Linked DNA regions of Homo sapiens: region 2 is linked to region 1. Evidence: promoter capture Hi-C in human tissues and cell types (Jung and others, 2019). All regions are on one chromosome and are shown on one strand. The core of a region is centred on a gene start or on the middle of the fragment in contact, and the rest is flanking DNA. Distances in the headings are between cores, read along the strand shown.

The links. Contacts are between HindIII fragments. The study calls those that stand out against the background at their distance.
Region 2: a contact is called between a fragment that was not itself captured here and the fragment with the promoter of TMEM74 in region 1, in 3 of the 25 tissues and cell types used here (H1 embryonic stem cells, hippocampus and pancreas).

Annotation. Positions count from the first base shown.
Region 1 is chr8:108,785,020-108,790,029 of GRCh38, reverse strand. It overlaps TMEM74 (transmembrane protein 74), which reads left to right and starts at 2,436. Exons shown (of 2, transcript NM_153015.3): 1 at 2,436-2,554; 2 at 4,893-5,010. The coding sequence starts at 4,932. RefSeq lists silencers at 2,321-2,500, 2,916-3,210. The HindIII fragment of the contact is 13,104 bases long and covers 1-5,010 here.
Region 2 is chr8:108,711,759-108,716,768 of GRCh38, reverse strand. It overlaps a transcript of TMEM74 not described here. Among named protein-coding and RNA genes, the nearest start is that of TMEM74, 73 kb to the left of the region's middle. The HindIII fragment of the contact is 7,955 bases long and covers 1-5,010 here.

The sequences.
Region 1 (5,010 bases), core at 1,187-3,686:
TCCAGAGCTTCTCAGATCAGTGCTTTGGCATCCTCCAGCACTCCAGTGTGTCACAGGTGTGCTGACTTATTTATTTCCTTAGCCCTCCAAGCTGTCCTGCAGAGACTGAAGTACCCACAGCCCCAGAACTATGGCCATGAGAAACCTCCTGTGTTTATCACATTGCCATAAATAGTATCACCTCTTATGTGTACTCTGCTGTAAAAAAGATTGTGAAGCATTGCTCAGTATAATGTGTTGGCAAAGAGATCAAGTCTCTGGAATCACACAGACCCAAGTTAGAACCTTAGCTCTGCCCGATATTAGTTTTCAGGCCTTGGAAAAGAAACTACATCTTTTCAAGCCTCAATTTCTACATTGCAAAATGGGTGCAATAATACTGCCTCCCTTGTGAAGTTGGTGTAAAAATTAAAGATGATAACATAATAGCACTAACAAAAAAGTATTATTGTTATTTGTTCTGCTTTTACCCTTTTAAATATACTATAGAATTCTTCTTCTATTTTTAGAAACTTCAGAATATTTGAAGCTAGTTTATTGTTTCCTCTCAGTATTCTCCTATGGCTAAATAGCCTAAGTTCCTAAGTTTTTCCTCGTCAACATAAATTCAAGTTCCTTCTACATCTTAGTTTCTCTCTTTATTTCTTTTTGCATATGTAGTACTAAGAACTGGATGCATCCCTGTAGATTTGGCTTGACAAACTAGTCCTTGAAGTGTGGATGGAATAGGGCAGTGGAGGAAAGATATTCATGCTGGAGAACCGTGTAGTAAGCAAAGGAGAAGTCATAATACATCTGTCATGTTTATCAACAAATGGGCCTCACTGGCTACAAATATAATCATATGGGGGAAAAAGAATTTTAAAGAGGGAGCATTGTGAACTCCTGTAATCATGTGACTATAGATTCTATCCAATGTAATGAAATACCAACATAATTGTCATTAAAGGAGATAGATCTCTCTTTTGAAAGCAAGCAACCACAGTATTTATGTGAGCTACAAGCACAATGTCATAATACATACTATAATCCCTAATCCCTTTTTTCTTTTTTTCTTTTTTTTTTTTTTGAGACGGAGTCTTGCTTTGTCGCCAGGCTGGAGTGGTGCAGTGGCACGATCTCTGCTCACTGCAACCTCCGCCTCCGGCTTCAAGCGATTCCCCTGCCTCAGCCTCCTGAGTAGCTGGGAGTACAGGCACGCGCCACCACGCCCGGCTAATTTTTTCTATTTTAGTAGAGACGGGGTTTCACCATGTTGGCCAGGATGGTCTCGATTTTCTGACCTCGTGATCTGCCCGCCTCGGCCTCCCAAATTGCTGGCATTACTGGCGTGAGCCATCGTGCCCAGCCCATCCATACTATAATCCTTTTTTGCTCCCCTAGAATTGTCCCAACAGGATGCTGGAAAACTGGAGATTATCTGCAAGCTACACATACCCTGGGCTTTCAGTGGCTGTTGGCTATTGCAGTCCACTCTGGTTGAAAGAGGCTGGTGACACAGTTACCTTGTCCTATCCTAAGAGTCACAACTCAGAAGATTCAACCTTCAGATTTCCTTTATTCCTGAGCCCTTTTATTCTGGCCTTCTGGTCTTTCTTCCATTCATTCCATATAGCATAACGCTTAGAATCTGTTGGTGTTCATCCCCCCCCCCCCACCTCTGCTAAGTATTAGTTGTGTGACATTGGGCAAATTATTCTACTTTGTAACTCAGTTTTGCCTTCTGTTAAAATGAGGATTTTTTTTTACAGTACTTTAACAATAAATTGTGACCATTAAATGAGATAATGTATCTATAGTGCTTAGAAGAGAGCCTGGCAATAATAAGCGCTATTTATGTTAACTGTTATTTTGAGTCATTATTATTCATACATTCAACGAATACCACTGTGCTAAATACAGGGGATGTGTTGGTACATCGGACAATCTCTTACCCCTTATGGTCATATTTCTTCTGATTTTGTGAGACACGCAATGACTTTCGAATCTGACTCCTGGATGCAATTTCAGAAGCTGCTGTTGGTAACTGTGGATGAGGCACTTACCCTCTCTGAGCCTGTTTCCACATCTGTAAAATGAGGATTAATAAAATCTACTTGGAAGATTTGTTTTGACTATTAAAAAGACAAAATATGCAAATTATCTGGCACATTTGAAGTCGAATATACTTTCCTTTTCACAGTCTTGTGGCCACACCTGAGGCTAGGGAACTCCACTCTAGGCTTAGAAAACAGTGCTGTCTTCTTAAGTGCTGGGGAGGAGTAAGAGGGTATGGCGGGAACTCATCTGCAGGAAGGGTAAAACCCAGAAGGCGTGGGAGGAGACAGAGACAGGAGGGATGCAGGGACCGCCCCTGGCCTACAACTCCCGGGATGCTCCGGGAGCGCCCCGCCCCGCCCCACCCCGCCCGCCGTGGCGGGCGCTGCCCACCCGGCGGAGCCGAGCGGCGTGCAGAGGCTACAAGTGCCGTAGCTGGTGATTGGGGGACTTTCTCCGGGAACCGTGCCGGGAGAGCGCGCGGTGCTGGAGCCGCACCGGGTGGCCGAAGCAGAAGGTGAGTGGCGGGGAGTGGGATGGGGTGGAGGCTTTGAATGCAAGGGTGAGAGCCCTGGAGCCTAGCAGAGCTGGAGCGCATATCCCCGCTCTCTCTCCTTCGTCTCCGAGTACTAGGCGGACACATCCGTACCTCGAATGCCTCAGTGGGCGCAGAGTTCACCAGAAATGGATAGCCGGATTCCTCGGCGCCTGCTGGGGGCACCGCTGCCAGGTGCTTGGGGCTCGCTCTCCCGGCTTTGCTCGCACAGGGCGCATCCAGAGGTCGCCTCCCCGAGATCAGCCTTGCCTGTGTCAGTTTAAAGCAAATATTAATGCTTTTAATTGATGACAGATGGACGAGGGAAAGTGCGTGTCCCCTCGCTTTAAGGTGCAATGTCGTTAACTGGGCTTTTAAGCAGATCAGAGGAAAAAGAGGGAGAGGACGGAAGAAAAGAGTCTTTAGCTGGTCCCCTGGGATTATCCATTCTCCACTGAGAATGGAAACCCCGGATTAGGGAGCTGCAAAGGAAATCGACTGTGCTGCTAGCATACCTCCGGTAGAACAAGCGAACAAGCGGGAGTAGCTTTTCTTTAAAGAGAGGTAGAGGCGGCCGTAGGGAATTAAGTGGGGATTTCTCTCTTCTTTTGTTATAAACTGAAAGTCTCAAAGAACCCTGCTGATTTTATCCAAGGTAGGCTAGTGTGATGAGTTAATGGTACCAAAGGTTAATCAGAGCCCCTAATGCCTGAGAAAACTGGAAGAAGAGTTATCGGTAATTGATGAAGCCTGTTACCATCACTTCATTCATTGAGGGATCCTTTAGTGGGGGTTTGTTCTAGTTTAGTAGTGATTCTTTTGCCCTGTTGTTTTTTGCTGTTTTCACTGTAGAGAAACTCCGATAACAGGAGAAAAACGTTTTCTGTTTTGCTTTTTTTGTTTTGTTTTAAACAAACTCTTAGGTGTAGCAGAAAACATGTCAATTCCCTCTCCCATATTTTGAGTTGCCAGGTTGACCTTAGGTGACCCTTGCCTGTGTTTCTGTTACCAGCTTTGGAGCTGTGGATTTTGAATTATAAGAAGCCTCAAGCCGTTGGGTTAAATCAATTATCACCCTGGATTTGGAAGCAAAATAAAAGGAGCCTTTGGTTAAAATCTCTAATGATAGTGGAAAGTGAATTTTTATTCCTTAGAAACATGGCAGAGGCAGAGAAAAGCCGATGGTTTTCTGCTCAAACCAAAGTTCTCTCCCAGAAATGCCCCTTGCTGCAGTCGGGGGTGAGGAGTGACATGTTTATAAAATTACAGAGGTAACCTTGGAAATAGCTTCTCACCTATTTGTCTCCACAGAACTCTTACTCTGTGGGTTTATAGTTTGTCTTTTATTATCAGTTCACTTCTAGATTGGGTTTGTAAAACTATCCAGATGGTCAATTTCTTGTGCATTGTGTGATAGCAAAGCATGCAGAGAGGGAGGAACACAGACCCAGGGAACGGGAGTAGCAGATCCTGCAGCTGGAGCAGGCAGGTGTGTGTGTGGAGGAGTGGGTTGGCCCATTGTATTTTGCAGGGATTGCCGTAAGGTCTGTTGCCTGTATGCTTTGGGGTCCAGAACATGCTTCCCCCATGGAGCAGTGAGGGAATAGGGCTAAGTGGAAGCACAGTGAATAAGCAGCATATGGTCTTGTAAATACAGGGCTGTGTCACTAGGGTCATTGGATGTATGAGGTGTAAGCTTAGCAGAGGTGGCTGATTAAGCTGGCCTTTTTCATCTACTTCAGAGCTATGGAATCAAAATGCTGAGTTCCTGCCCAGCTGATAGGGGTGTATAGTCATTCACTGATGGTGATGCTCCAAAGCTAATCTGTATTAGAATTTGCTCTGAACTAGGGAGAGTGTAAACACTTACAATCTTACTGAATTAACAAGTCTATGCTTCCCCAAGTCCTCCAGAAAATCGGCAGCTCTGCTAAAAAGGGCTCTTGCCTTTCTCATTTGTCTTTTTACAGGAAACTTGCCTTCTCGTTTGAGGGATCCTTTTGCAGGAATGCGCGAGTCCTTGAATAAATTTGGCTTGGTGACGGCAGTATTCTTTCTCAGTAGACACTGCCACTTCCTCCACGCACCTTTCTACCCTGACTTAAGTTTCTCAGTGTTAATCACTATGACAAGTGAGAGCATTTGTCCCTTCCACACTTTCCTGCCACTAGGTATCCCCTCCCTTCTTTTGCCTGTTTGAGGTGGAAAAGGGGCTAAACAGGTGCAGCTGTGAAGGAAATGGGGACCCCAGGAGCAACACTCCTGGAAGTACAACCTTAGCTTCTGTTGGGTTCTTATCTAACTCTGTTGCTATTGGCAGACTTTCCGGAAGCTGCTGGGGGATGTCTGACTAGCTCTCATGGAGCTCCACTACCTTGCTAAGAAGAGCAACCAGGCAGACCTCTGTGATGCCAGGGACTGGAGTTCAAGAGGGCTGC
Region 2 (5,010 bases), core at 665-3,164, 73 kb after region 1:
CCCCTTTGATGTTTTAAACCAATGTTACTGTTTTGCTGTTTACTTACTAAATAATTTCTCATTTTATTTTTAATAGTTCTCTTTGATGATTTTCTCCTGCATGCTTTTTACCTAATTTTTCTAAACTTCTTGAGTTAAATACTCATTTAATAGATGAATATGCTGTTTTGTTTAATAATGAAATAACATAAAGTTGTAAATTTTCCTCTCACTGTAACATTGGGTGCATTGAATAACTTTGATGTACAGTCCTCTAATTTTAAAATTTCTAATCTATAATTTTAACATTAATTTTCTCTGTGACTCAGAGTCAGAACAGAGAACAGACACTTTAATATCTCATTTGCCCCTTTAGCACCATTTCTAAACAGGTTACCTCTTTTGTAGGTGATGAAAGAGTTTTTGAATTCGTTAATTATTTAATAGTTTTAATGTACTGAAATTTTAAAATCAATTTCTAATATTTCATTTTATTAGGAATATATCCTATGTAACTTTTTACATCATGGAACATATTGCATATTTTGATTTACTGTGTAGTGATGTTTGAAGGCAAAGCATGTTCTCTGTTCATGGAGTAAAAGTTTGAAATGTATTTGGAAGTTTGCTCTTAGTAATTACTATATTTAAGCATTCTACATTGCAGTTTTTTGTCAAAAGCTACAGAGCTGTATAAAATTTACCTTGTAGAATGTGTTTCTGTCTATATTACCTGCTTTTTTATTTTCTTTTTTTAATCAATTTTTATACTATGTCATTTGCCATATAAACATGTTTAGTGATTTATTATCTTTCTTATGAATTACAATTTCTTCAAAGTAAACTTGTATTCTATGGCTTAATGAATATCTTTCACTTCAAATTCTATATTGTCTGCTATTAAAATTGTCACCAGGGTTACTTGTCTCATAAATATTTGCAAACCTGTTTATTTTTAAGCTATCTATATAATTTAATTTTTGTTTTATGTCTTCTTAGCAGCATTTGGTTAGACTTTTTTAATTTAAAAAAGTTTAGCCCCATTTATTATATATATCTTTGCCTGTATATGTTTTTTGTATTTTTATTATACTTTATGCTTTCTCACTTATTTCCAGTGATATAGAAAGTGTGCATTCGCTTTTTAATGTACTAGTGATTTTCTTTACATATAAAAGTCATTCAAACTACATTCCTCTCATTATTACATGACATAAACACAACTTGTCAGACAACTTGTCTGACTATAAAATGATTGTATTATAGGCCTTTCTTCTCCAGTTTTTTTTAAATGATGATTCACTGTTTCCCAAAATTTCCCATTGCAGAACTGTTTAAAGGCAACTCATTTTTTTTTCTTTTTCCGCTTCTATTTTAGGCTCAGGAGCCACAAGTGCAAGTTTGTTACCTGAGTATATCGTGTAATGCTGAAGTTTGGGGTATGAATGATCCCCTGGCCCTGGCAGTGAGTCATCGTACCTAGCAGTGTTTTAGCCCTCGCCTCCCTCCTCCCACTAGTAGCCTCCAGCATCTAGTGTTGCCATCTTTGTGTCCATAAGTACCTGATATTTAGCTTAAATAAAGATATTTGTTATATGATATAAATCACTAAACATGTTTATATGCCAAATGGCATAACATAAAAATTGATATTTAAAAAAGAAAATTAAAAAGCAGGTAATATAGATAGAAACACATTCTACAAAGGAAATTTTATACAGCTCTGTAGCTTTTGACAAAAAAGAAAAGATACAATATAGAATGCTTAAATATCGGAGTTGTGTTTATGTTGTGTTTATGTCATGTAATAATGAGAAAAATGTAATTTGAATGATTTTTCAATATGTAAAGGAAATCACTAGTAAATTAAAAATAGAATGGAAACATGGATGGCCTCCAGCTCCATCCACGTTGCTGCAAAGGACATGATTTTGATCTTTGTTAAGGCTGCATGGTATTCCATGGTATATATATTCCACATTTTCTTTATCCAGTTTATTATTGATGGGCACCTGGGTTGAGTCCATGTGTTTGCTATTGTGAATAGTGTTGCAATGAACATGCAAGTTCATGTGTCTTTTTGGTAGAATGATTTGTTTCCTTTGGATATTCATAGAGTAATGGGATTATTGGTTCAACTGGTAGTTCTGAGTTCTTTAAGAAATCTTCAAACTGCTTTCCACAGTAACTGCACTAATGTACATTTCCACCAACAGTGTATAAGCGTTCCCTTTTCTTTGCTGCCTCGCCAACATCTGAGACAACTCATTTTCTATCTTTGTCAGTCACCTGTTCCTCCCTTGTCACTTGAAGAATTTTTTCTTTATTCTTAGATTTTAACTTTTGTGCCAGAGGGTATCTATATCTCCTTTCTTGGTAATTTTGCCGAGAATTTCATCTAACTATCCTAGTATTTTGAACTCCATACAATTGTATTCCACTGTGACAGATTAATTCTTCTATTTCAGTTATTCTATTATTGTCTTCTATTTCAGTTATTCAGTTATTGTCCTCCTCTAGAATATCTATACATTTTTACCTTGTTATTTCTCTTTTAGACCAGATTAGTCTTATGTCAATTTTAGTATCAACTTGACTGGATTAAGGAATACCTAGAAGCCTGGTAAAGAATTATTTTGGGGTGTCTGTGAGGGTGTTTCTAGAGAAGATTAGCATGTGAGTCTGAGGGGACCAGGTAGGAAAGAACTGCCCTCAGTGTGGGAAGGTGTCGTTAATCTGCTGGGGGTCTGGAGGGAACAAAAACAGAGAAAAGGTGAATGTGTTGATCTGTCTGCTGCAGCTGGGATACACTCTTTTTCTCCTGTCCCTATGCAACAACTCCAGGCTCCCTGGCCTTTAAATTCCAAGACTTACACCAGTGGCCCCCTGGGTTCTCAGGCCTTTGGCCTTGGACTGTTACCCCATCAGCTTCCCTGGCTCTGAGGCCTTCTGACTTGGACTGAGTTTGATGTTTTCAGCATTGCAGGGTCTCCAGCTTGCAGATGGCTTGTCCTGCAACTTCTCAGCCTCCATAATTGTGTGAGCCAATCCTAACAAATCTCCTCTCATATATCATGTATATCCTATTGACTCTGTCTCTTTGGAGAACCCTGACTAATACAAATTTTAACATGGTATATGTATGCCCTTAATAGCACCCATAGATTTTCCCCATAGCTGCTATCACAGTTTTAATGTGTATTTTGTGAATATTTATTAAGTGCCTATCTCCTTTACAGTGTGTGAGTGCAATTATATAGCTGAATCCATGTATCATGTGTTCACCACTGTATTCCAACAGCCCAGCACATCATAGGTGATAAAAAATATGTATTGAATGAATGCATCTTTCTGGTCTTGCACATAGCCATTTTATTTTTTTACCCAATTAATTCATCTCTTTTCTTTGTCAAGTTTTGCCACTGTAAGTTTAAGGCCATTAGAATTTTTTCTTAACCAGTCTCCTTTTCTATCTCATTATTTTATAATTGTATATAATTCAATTTTTCTATCATCTCAGTCTATTCTTGTCTCAGTTTTCAGCCCATTTCCTATGGCCTTATCTTCTTATATGCTATTTCAGTTGCTAAATTTTTAGCCAAATTGCCAAAATCTGTTAAGGATCCATAAAAGACAGTGGTTCCCAAATAGATGTTCAAATCTAGAGTCACCAGGGAAACTAAAACCAATGAACCAACCAACAAAAGTTCATGTATTTGTGGACTCCAATAACATCGTCAATAACTCTGGAATAGATCCTAGGGGGACATATTTTTTTCTGTGTGCAGAATCCCAGGTCTCATTACAGGAAAGTAAATATAAAACTACAATTCCTAGCATGCACTGTTACCAGAGCTCTTCATGTCTCTACACCTGACCAGAGAGAACACTACCTCCAGGAAGCAATGTCCCACAAGCTTCACCCCTCACTCCATCCCCAGTTTCTTTTCTGTTACATTCTAAGGGCTACAGATTCTTCTGGGATTTTGGCAATAGATTCCTGGTTTTAGTTGACAGGCTTGTTATGAGTTTTCATCTTGTATTAAATACAACACACACACACACACGCACACACATATATAGCATGGTAGTATGGGAGGCTAAATGAATCAAGGTGTACCAGGAAGCAATTACTTTGAACCATAATCCTGATCATGTGATAATGCTTAGCATGGAGTGTCAAAACTGGATCAGGATGAGAATGGCTTTTACTCAGGGAGCAGCCTGATATGCGTACTCAGAGCTCGAGCAGTATGAGGAGGACATCCACAAGGAGGCCCATCTGCCATGGTGTGCCAGTGCTAGAGCAGCATGGGAAGGGCTTCACTTGGTGAAGCTTTATTCATGTGAATAAAACATGAAACTATGAGTCAACAGACATAAATTCATACATGAATCAACTGACATTTTGATAAGGAATGAGATATTTACATAGTTTCAAGATAGAGAGCTTAGTTTTCAAGCCTACAATTTATAATTCAGGCTGGAAAACACTGATTTAAACAATGGGGAAACCATGTGCAGCGTATCCCTAAAGAGTTGGCATTGGATTGATAATATTTTCTGGTTAAGCTCATACCTGATTTTTCAGTGTCTTATTACGCCCTGGTTCTCAAACTTAAGCATGCATCAGAATCACCTGGAGGACTTCTTAAAACACACATTGCAAGCCCCATCCCTCAGAGCTTCTGATTGAGTAATCTGGGGGTGGGTATCCTGGAATTTGCAATTTGCAATTTTGATGTCCAAAAAGTTCCCAGGTGATGCTGATGGTCCAGACCACACAATGACAACGAGTCTTACATTACCAAGCTTCCCTCTGCCTCCAGATATATCTCTATATCTATATCTATAGATATAGATATGCAACTCTCCCATCCCCCAACATAGTCTCACCCATACCCTAGACTTGGGCCATACTAGAATTCTGGGCACATTTCTTATAATGGCATGCCTTTTCCTACTTTCATAACTTTATTCATTATAGTCTCTCTGTTAGTAATGTCTTCTCCTGACAGCCTCAAGAATGGC